Linked DNA regions of Homo sapiens: region 2 is linked to region 1. The links are contacts of gene promoters, found by promoter capture Hi-C in human tissues and cell types (Jung and others, 2019). All regions are on one chromosome and are shown on one strand. The core of a region is centred on a gene start or on the middle of the fragment in contact, and the rest is flanking DNA. Distances in the headings are between cores, read along the strand shown.

The links. The method cuts DNA at HindIII sites, captures the fragments that hold promoters and counts their contacts. A contact is called where the count stands out against the background at its distance.
Region 2: a fragment that was not itself captured here is called in contact with the fragment with the promoter of EIF4G2 in region 1 in 1 of the 25 tissues and cell types used here (dorsolateral prefrontal cortex).

Annotation. Positions count from the first base shown.
Region 1 is chr11:10,807,271-10,812,619 of GRCh38, reverse strand. It overlaps EIF4G2 (eukaryotic translation initiation factor 4 gamma 2), which reads left to right and starts at 3,694. Exons shown (of 22, transcript NM_001418.4): 1 at 3,694-3,915; 2 at 5,239-5,349. The coding sequence starts at 5,325. LOC101928053 (a long non-coding RNA gene) reads right to left here and starts at 3,323. Exons shown (of 3, transcript NR_120540.1): 1 at 3,254-3,323; 2 at 2,699-2,763. RefSeq lists enhancers at 2,610-3,216, 3,292-3,341, 3,852-4,111, 4,842-4,921 and a silencer at 3,522-3,571. The HindIII fragment of the contact is 7,870 bases long and covers 278-5,349 here.
Region 2 is chr11:11,763,666-11,769,014 of GRCh38, reverse strand. No RefSeq gene overlaps it. Among named protein-coding and RNA genes, the nearest start is that of MIR8070, 17 kb to the left of the region's middle. The HindIII fragment of the contact is 3,796 bases long and covers 1,247-5,042 here.

The DNA of each region.
Region 1 (5,349 bases), core at 2,445-4,944:
ATGGGAACATAAATGAGTGAATCAAGTCAGATGCAACTGTGGAGAAATCAAAACATCGAGAGAAGGTAGTTCTACTTAGTTATGCTTGAATGTTGCCCTATGAGAATTTCAGGCCCAGTATTGCCATATTTTAAGATTTTTCATGAAAAGATGGAAATCTGGATTTGTATGCAAAAATTTGTGTGAATATCAAATTCAAGTGTTTAAAACTACTGTGGCTCAAACTATGGCTTCAAGTTTGCATCTCTGAGCAAAAGGCTGTTGGAAATTCAGAACTGGATGTAAAGTGAGAGATCTGGGCTGAAGGTAAATGATTAGGGAATTCATAAGCACAGAGAGGATGGTAGATGCTTCCAAAACAGTATGTGTTAGAATAGTAACCAGCACTTGACATGATTAGTTAAAATAAGGCAAAAATATATGAGTTAACAAGTTAGTCAGGACTTAGAGAAAACTGATAAAACTAGCAGTGGAAAACTAGCAGACTTAAGTGGGTATATTTAAAATTCAATTTTCAATGAACTAAAAGCTAAATTCCAGACAATGACTCTGTGTGTGTGTGTGTGTTTAAGATAGGATTTCGCTCTGTTACCCAGGCTGGAGTGCAGTGACATGATCATGGCTCACTTCAGCCTCGACCTCCAGGGCTCAAGCCATCCTACTGCCTCAGCCTCCCAAGTAGCTGGTACTACAGGCATGTGGGACACAGGCTAATTTTTGTATTTTTTGTAGAGACAGGTTTTCACCACGTTGCCCAGGCTAGTCTCAAACTCCTGAGCTCAAGCTACCCACCTGCTTCAGTCTCCAAAAGAGCTGGGATTGCAGGCATCAGCCACCATGCCTAGCATTTTATTTTTTTTGAGACAGGATCTCACTCTACTGCCCTGGCTGGAGTGCAGTGGCGTGACCATGGCTTAGTGCAGCCTCAAAGTCCTGGGCTTAAGGGATTCGCCCATGTCAGCCTCCCAAGTAGCTGGGACTACAGATGCATGTCACCACATCTGGATTAATTTTTAATTTTAGAGATGGGGGGGTCTCCCTATGTTGCCCAGATTGGTCTCCAACTCCTGGGCTCAAAGAATCCTCCCAGCTTGGCCTCCAAAAGTGCTGCTGAATTTTCATATATCCATGACGTGATGGAAACATTTAGAAAGTTTCAATGTTTATTTCCCTCACTTAAATATATTTCGATTTGAAAAAAAACTATTGTCTAGACTTCAAAGAGTATATTCATCTAGCCCTAAAAGCTAGATGTTCTTATAATTAAGACACTTAAAATTCAATAATTAAAAATTTTTTACACTGGGCACAGTGGCTCACACCTGTAATCCCAGTATTTTGGGAGGCCCAGACGGGTGGATCACTTGAGGTCAGGAGTTTGAGACCAGTCTGGGCAACATGGTGAAACCCCATCTCAAGTAGAAATACAAAAATTAGCTGGGCGTGGTGGCACATGCTTGTAATCCCAGCTACTCAGGAGGCTGAGGCACGAGAACTGCTTGAACCCAGGAGGTGGAGGCTGCAGTGTGCAGAGATCACACCACTACACTCCAGCCTGAGTGACAAAGTGAGACTCTGTCTCAAAAAAAAATTTTTTTTTCTAAAGGTTTTACTTAATGTTTTTATTTAATCTTTGCTAATTGTGAACCCTTCTGCAATGGGCTTTGCAGGTACGATTTCAACTTCAAATCTTTCTATTTAAGTGAGAGAAAGGTAATTGAAAGATTGTTTTATCAATATTTTTACTTTTTCTACCTTAGGTTATTCCCTTCCAGGTCAATTTCTCACATAAACTCATATCTGCAAAGCCCATACCAAAAGGGTTCCCAATTAGCAAAGATTAAATAAAATATTAAGTAAAACCTTTTTTAAATTTTTAATTACTGAATTTTAAGTGTCTTAATTATAAGAACATCCGACTTTTACGGCTAGGTGAATATTCTCTTTGAAGTCTAGACAATAGTTTTTGAATACTACTCTTCTTAGTAAACTAATGTATTCGTTCATTATCAGATAAATGGAATGTAAACCAGTTATGTAAAAATATCACATATACTAATGCATTTTTCCAAACCTTAAAGCCCTACAGAAATTATAAAGAAACATTATTCTCGTGTTATCATGAAGCTAGAAGGGTCCAAAGAAATACAAAGTGAAACCTCTTGTATTTAAAACAAAACTTGCACCACCACCACCACCCCAAAATAGTTTTTTTTTTTTTTTAGAATATCTCTTCCAAGTTTTAAAGTTCAAGTAAAATTGATGTAATAGCAATAAGTGTAGTAACAGTAAAGTAGGGAATGGTGACTATTCTATAGCAAAGATCTACAGATGTTGGAATTGTGTTAAAAACCTTCAGAGCCACACCACAGCCTTCTATTACATTTAAATGTCGTAGGAAAAACTGCAATTTTCCGGAAAATTGTATTAAGGACCAGGTGCTCTAATACCAAGAGCTGTTTTGACACATCAAAGGTTAAGTTTGGGTCTTTGAAAATCCTGCCTCTTACTGAACACTTTAAAAGTCATTCATGTTAAAACACACACATTCTTGCCTTTGACTATACACTGTAAAAGTACTACATGTTAAAATGGAGATGGGGACATTTTTGTTGTTTAAGTTTATGGAAGTATGACTCCATTTTAGTATAGCTACAATGTCGCAAACGATGGAATAAGGTACTCATCAATACATTACCTGGTAAGTATAAATAGTTCAACTTGCCGGCTTTGAAAAGCTTAATCCTATTTCTTATGGTGAACCTTAAATAAAATGAAAATACACAACTGACAATGTTTAACGTGCACTTAAACAAACAAAAAACAAAAAAAAACAGGAGCTAGCAATTCGAAATCCTCCAAACACCCGCGGAAGTCTGACACACAGGGTGTTTTCCTCGGTGACCGCCAGCCGGACATTCCTATGGGAAAAGCAGCTTCTTCTGTGCGGTTCGAAGAAAATCAACCCCTTCCTTTCATCACTTTCTCATTCACTCTGCAGGGGGTGGGCCAATAAGGAGCTGAATGAAGCTCCCCTTTGGCATCCGGGCGCACGTCTCGCCTCCTCCCCACTACTTTCTGGGTTCCCTAAGGCTGCCGAAGCCGAGGACCTGGAGCCGGGTAGTGTCCCGGCGCTGCGCCCGGGGGCTCCAGGCCTCAACCCGAAGGGCTCAGCCCCGGGAGAGGCCAGGCACGCGAGGGCAGCCACAGCTCCAAGGGGCGCCAAGAAAAGCAATGCTCACTCGCCACGCACAGGGTTCGGGGGAGGTAAGGGTGCGTTTTCTTCCCATATTCCCGGTGAGAAAACGAGGTCGAGGGAAAAGGGGATGATACAACTGGAGCATGGCATATGGACTCAGTGAACAAAGGGACTGGAGCAAGAAGCAGCAGCCACGCCAACGCAGACTCAAAAGGGCTCTCCGGCTTTACGCACGCAACCCTCATCTCGACAGCGCTCGGCGCCCCTTACGCCACTGGCTCAGCCTCAGAGACTTCGCGAATATGGCTTTGCGCACTGCGGCGGGGCTGCGCCGCAACCGAGCTCAGCCCTGTGGCTCCTCCTCGCTGCCCTGCGCGGATTGGTGGCAGACGGCAACCGGGCCGCTGATTGGGCGGCGAAGGAGCCATTCGGGGAGACTCTGGTGGGTTCGGCTGCCCCAAGAGTGATAAGTTCGGCTTCAGACACGCCTTAGCGCCAGCAGTGAGTCGGAGCTCTATGGAGGTGGCAGCGGGTACCGAGTGGCGGCTGCAGCAGCGACTCCTCTGAGCTGAGTTTGAGGCCGTCCCCGACTCCTTCCTCCCCCTTCCCTCCCCCTTTTTTTTGTTTTCCGTTCCCCTTTCCCCTCCCTTCCCTATCCCCGACGACCGGATCCTGAGGAGGCAGCTGCGGTGGCAGCTGCTGAGTTCTCGGTGAAGGTGAGTTGAGCCGCTGCCGCCGCCGAGTGGAGCGCTCTAAAATGGCCGCCGTCCCTGGTCGCTTCTTCTCGAGTGGTACAAAATGGCGGCCGCAGGCGGAGCCGGGTGGGGCGACCCTTTTTTAGCATTTCCTCTGCGCTTCAGATACCTGGAAAGTCTTGGCTTTTGTTCTCTCTTCCTGTTGCTGACGGAGTAGAAGGAAAACGTCAGTGTTGGCCAGGCCGCCGTGCGGTCATGGCCGGATGGCCGACGCCTGCAGGGACGAGGCCGTGGCGGACCGAGGCACGGCTGTGCTCGGACGGCGAGGGAGCGTGGCTCGGACCGCTAGCGCCGTGGCGGGAGGCACGCGGGCCGGCAGGGAAGGCCAGGCCGTTGGCGCGGGACCAGGGAACCGCAGGCGTCCCGGAGCCTGGCCTCCCGGCGGGGAGGTGTGTAGGACCTGGAGTCGGCAGGGGCTGCCCTTCGTCGGGGAGGAAAGAGAGAGTGATGATTTCTGCCCCTTTTGTCAGCAGAGGAGGCCGTGGCGAGGCGGTTGTCAGTCCCGGGGGGATTTATGGTGCAGGAGGGGGCCCGCTTGGAGGCGGCGGGTGGGCAGGAGGCCGCCTTCCTGCTTGGAGAACAAAGAGCTGGGCGCCGGGCTGGCGGGGGTGGCCTCAGCTGCTCCTCCCCGTCGAGCGACCCGGGCCTCGCGGGGAGGTTGTCGGAAGCACTTCCCTAACTTGCGCCTGGGTGGGAGGAATGCTCCGCTCTTTTGTTCCCAGGAAGGGAAAAACGGGGCGGAGGTTCCTGCTGCCATGTTGTGGCCCTGGTCTTCCGCCTGCAAGTGCTAGTCCTGTACACCCGGCCCCCTCTCGCGCGTCTTTCCACGAGCTCTCCACGGGGAGGAGGCGAAAGGGTGGACAGGGGAAAACTGCTGAAGAGCTTTCGGAGAGACCTCATCTAGTCGCTGGCCTCGTCAAGGCAGTAAAAATTCCTAGGGCAGACATTTTCCACGTGATGTTGCTCGTGTCTGTAGTTAGACTTTTCTATTGATCTCAGTGCTCAGTTTTAAAGATAGTAGAATGTGGCTTTTTCAAAAGATTCGTTCTGAGCCGTTTAAAATGCTCTTGTGTTCTACGAAGTCTCTTTGCATCCTTGAACACCGGGGAATTTCCAGGTGGCTAAACAAAATGTAATTGTCAGTGTTTTGAGTACATTTTAGGTTAGTCTTACAGATCTGCAATGCAGTGACAGTGCCAGGATCTGAAATACGTTGTAATTGAATGAAGGCTTATAGATCTGTATGTTAGCAGTGTCTAATTTTGGTGCTCTTTCTCGTTCCAGGTATTTCATTTCTCCTGTCCCCTCCCCTCCCCACCCCATCTATTAATATTATTCTTTTGAAGATTCTTCGTTGTCAAGCCGCCAAAGTGGAGAGTGCGATTGCAGAAGGGG
Region 2 (5,349 bases), core at 1,895-4,394, 960 kb before region 1:
AGTGATGACAATGATAATGATAAAGTTGGAAAGAAAGTTAAGAAAAAAAAAGGGCATTCATTGTGCTTCTGACACGTTCCAGTCCTTGTGGAAATGGAATCATCCAATACTAGGAGTATTTCCCATCTACAAATCTCAAAGACCCTGGGCATGGATAGGATGGTATTTCTTGTAAGGGATATTAGAAAGATTTTTAAAACCACCTCCAGCTTAAATTTTTCCTCTTACTTGGAAAAGCTATAAGCTTTTCATGCTATAAGCTGCCTTTCTTTACAGAACTATTAAATTATCCTTCAGATACAGTTAAATTTTATGGCCAAAATGTAGAAGATAAATTGGGAGGTAAACACATTACTGTATTCATTAAAACATGCACTCCATAAAACTGATTCTACTCTTCAAAAACATTTATTCCATCAGCACTGGGAATGGCTGAAAGTGATGGGGAGTACGTATTAGGAAAGGCTACCACATGGTAACACAAAATAAGGAGTTAATATATCCAGTTCTTGTTCTTTGTACTGAGATCCCTCAGTTTCTCTACAGGGATTGACCAAGCTAATGATGTGTAAGAGATGCCACTGGTTGACATAGACACAAAGTGTCCTGGACACCTCTGAAGGAAGGCATGCTAATTTGAACAGATCCTTTCACCATCAAGCTTAAAAAATGGCAGCAAACACTGGGCTCTGTGGACTCAAGGTTATTTTAAACCAAAAGTATATCATCAACATAGCTTGCAAACAGTAACTTTCAGTCCCAGAGGACTCCGCAGGCATTGCTAAGGTGCTTTACTGGTAGAAGTCCTCTGATTTCATTTTCACTCTGGATACCAGTTTCATATTTAAGGTCTGTAAGCAGCAGTAAGGGGCTTCTGTATGGAGTATTTTCTCTGCAACTGATAGTCCAAGACTGTCTGTAATGAACAATACAATTTTCAGGCCAGAGGGGTGGACTGGAAGCTGCTGAGATAGGATTCTAAGGACCTGGATAAAAGGAATCCATTCATTTGGCTAAGGAAATCTGTCACTTCAGAAAAATTAGTGATATTTTCCAAATCACATCAATGCCAAGGAGCTAACAGAACTTCTTGGACATAAAATAGTCATATTTTTCAGAGAAACTTGATTGCTATTTGGAATTCTATTGTTACCTTGTTCAGTCTCTCTCATGTATTAATAAATGCTTTTGGTAGTAGAAACATTCCTTGTAATGTAAGAATTTAGGTTCCAACCAAAAGAATACATATGAGTCTGGAAACCAATTAGAGTCTTTCTCCTCAGGAAAGTTTATACACAGTGAGCCCCCAAGAAAGTGTAGATCTGTCTCGGGAAGGTCTAGAGCCAGGAAATCTCACAGTGAAGCCAAATGGTGGCTCATTCAGCTGCAGTGACTCTTCTGGTCTTTTCCATAGGAACTTCTTTCACTGCAGACCAGCCGGTAGCTTTTCAGCAACTGAAAAGCTCAAGACTCCCTCCAGCACTGCCATCTTCATTTAGTATCCTTAGGGACCAGCCCATCCAGAGGCAGGACCTTGACTGTTCTCTATGTATTCTTGTGTTTTTGTTTTTGACTGTTTGATTCCATCTACGTAAACAACTTTTTAAAATTGACAAATAAAAAGTATGTATGTTTGTGGTATACAACATGCTATTTCGATATAGGTATCTATTATGAAATGACTAAATCAAGCTAATTACCATATCCATCACCTGACATCCTTATCATTTGTGTAATGAGAATTTTTTTCTTTTTTTTTTTTTTTTGAGACGGAGTCTCGCTCTGTTGCCCAGGCTGGAGTGCGGTGGCGCGATCTCGGCTCACTGCAAGCTTCGCCTCCCAGGTTCATGCCATTCTCCTGCCTCAGCCTCCCAAGTAGCTGGGACTACAGGCGCCCGCCACTACGCCCAGCTAATTTTTTTGTATTTTTTTTTAGTAGAGACGGGGTTTCACCGTGTTAGCCAGGATGGTCTCAATCTCCTGATCTCGTGATCCGCCCATCCCGGCCTCCCAAAGTGCTGGGATTACAGGCGTGAGCCACCGCGCCCAGCCTGTAATGAGAATATTTAAAATCTACTCTCCTAGCAATTTTCAAGTAACAATAATTAACTATAGTCACCATGCTGTACAACAGATCTCTAAAACTTATTCCTCCTATTTAACTGAAACTTGTACTTTTTGACCAGCATCTCCCCAAACCCCCACCCTCCAGTCAGTGGTAATTATCATCCTACTCTCTGCTTCTCTGAATTTGACTTTTTTAGATTTCACATATAAGTGAGATCATGTGGTATTTGTATTTCTGTGCCTGGCTTATTTTACTTAACATCATGTCCTCTAGGTTAATCCATATTGCCATAAATGACAGAATTTCCTTCTTTTTTAAGGCTGAGTAGTGTTCCATTGTGTATACATACCACATTTTCTTGATCCATTCATCCATTTGTGGACATGTAGGTTGATTCCATGTTTTAGCTATTGTGAATAATACCACAGTGAAAGTGGATATACAGTTATCTCTTCAACATACTGATTTCTCTTCCTTTGGGTATATACCCAGAAGTGGGATTGCTGAATCACTTGGTAGTTCTATTTTTAGTTTTTTAGGGATCTTACTTTTTTCCATACTGGCTGTACTAATTTACATTCCCATCAATAGTACACAAGGGTTTCCTTTTCTCCATATCCTTGCCAATGTTTGTTATCTTTTCTCTTTTTGGTAAAAGCCATTCTTACTGGTATGAGGTGATATCCCATTGTGGTATTAATGGTCAGTAATGTTGTACTGATGGTCAGTAATGTTGAGCACCATTTCATATACCTGTTGGCCTTTTGTATATCATCTTTTGATAAATGTCTATTCAGGTCTTTCGCCTGTTTTAAAATCAGGCAGTCAGGCATGGAGGCTCACACCTGTAATCCCAGCACTTTGGGAGGCCAAGGCAGAATTGATAGCTTGAGCCCAGGGGTAAGAGACCTGCCTGGGCAACATAGTGAGACTCTGTCTCTACAAAAAATAAAAAATAAAAATTTAGCTGGGCTTGGCGGCTTACTCTTGTAGTCCCAGCTACTTGGGAGGCTGAAACAAGAGGATTGCTTGAGCTTGGAGGTTGAGGCTGCAGTGTGCTGTGATCACACCACAGCACTCCAGCCTGGGTGACAGAGTAAGACCCTGTCCCAAAATAAATGTGTAAATAAATACATAAAATTAGGTTATTTGTTTTATAGCTGTTGAGTTGTACGAGTTCCTTATATATGTTTTGGATTTAGCTTCTTATGAGACATATGGTTTGCAAACTTTTTTTTTCTATTCCGTAGGTTTTCTCTTCACTTGTTGATTTTTTTTCAAGGCAATCCCATTGCCCATTTTTGCTTTTTCTGTTTGTACTTTGGGAGTGATACCCAAAAAATCTTTGCCAAGACCAATGTGAAGATTTCTCCCCCTATATTTTCTTCTAGTAGTTTACAGTTTTAAGTCTTACATTTAAGTTGTTAATCTATGTGTATGCAGTCCTAACCATCAGCTCATGCAGTGGACTTCAGGTGACTTAGCAACAATAGCAGCAATGACAAGAGTAAAATAGTTAACACTGATGAAGCACCCTCTATGTACCAGGTGTTGGGAAAAGTACTTTTTTTTTTTTTTTTTTTGAGACGGAGTCTCACTCTCGCCCAGGCTGGAGTGCAGTGGTGCAATCCTGGCTCACTGCAAACTCCACCTCCTGGGTTCATGCCATTCTCCTGCCTCAGCCTCTCAAGTAGCTGGGACTACAGGTGCCCACCACCACACCTGGCTAGTTTTTTGTATTTTTAGTAGAGATGGGGTTTCACCATTTTAGCCAGGATGGTCTCGATCTCCTGACCTCGTGATCCGCCCGCCTTGGACTCCCAAAGTGCTGGGATTACAGGCATGAGCCATTGTGCCCAGCCAGGAAAAGTACTTTTTATACTTTATCCCACTGAATCCTCACAATGACAATGTCAAGTAGATATTATTACTCACACTGTACAAAAGAAGAAATGGAGGCACAGAGGTATAAAACAATTAACCCTGTTGCACTGCTGGTAAGACAGCAAAGCTGGGATTCAAACTCAAGTCTATTTGAGCCTGAGTCTCAACCACTGCTACCCTACACTATTTTCTCTAAAAGTTGTCACTGTTTGGAGAAGAATATTTTTTTTAAAAAGTTTACTTTTTCTGTTTGGGGAATTTATATGAATTATTAAAAAATTGAAAACTCAAGTAACATAGAAAGTAGAGAAAAATTATCACCAATAGTCTTACTTTTCAGACAATCTGTGGTTAATATTCAGTTACATTTCTATGAAGCATTTTCCTCATACAGAGTTTTCGTAGGATTGTGATAATTCTCTAGGGAAGACCTCGCAGACTGCACTTCTCCATTTTAGAAACATGATAAATGTCACTTATAACTGCTACATATTATCATAGCTAATGAATGCAACATGATCTTCTTGACTCTTCCTCTCTTGATGGACATTTAGAATCTTTTCTTTCTTGCTTTTTTTCAGTATTTCAGATCTTTTTTTAAAAGAAAGATACTCTTGGCTTTCTAGAGTTAAATGAGGATATCCAGGAAGGGGACAAGGAGAGAAAAAGGAGATTATCTTCGTGGTACTGCCTTTTTCCACAAGAAATAATCCCATGAGGAGTGGGGGCAGGCTTAGGGACTTTGCCCTGCCATCACCATGCATGGAAACATCACTCCCACATCTTGACAGGCTGCTCTTCACCACCACCGCTTTCTCTTACTCCTCCCCAGGCTCTGAGTGTGAAGCTTAGAGAGGGAGAATATGAGGATCTATGGGAAAAGATCCTCCTCCTCTTCTTTCCTAGGGATGAGAGGTCCTCATCTCCAAAGGGCTCATGGCCATTTCAGGAGTATCGCATTTTCCTGGGCTTGCAGGAAAACAGACCAGCTAGTCATCTCTCCTGGGCAGTGACTATACCCCGTGGAGGCAGGTGCTTGTTGGGTTCTCTCACATTTGGAGAAGCAGTGAGGATTGGCAGCTGGATCATCACAGACTGAACCCACAGCTCCTCCTCACCTGCCTTTCAAGCAAGGAGGGTGAATTCCTCCTCTCCTGGTAGCAAGTCATTTATGTTCCAGCTGTGAAAATTTGATCAAAAAAGGATGAACTTATTTCAGTGGATTAGAGTTCATTGCATATATAGTCCATCATCTGGAAATTTTTACACTAATTAAAAATAAAAACAGATTTTCTATTATGTGTTTTTTTTCCTAGAAAAGATTTAGCCAAGCTTCAAGGGCCAAACCATCTGAATTAACTCTGATTCCCAACTCCAGATTTGAGATCTTTGAGTTT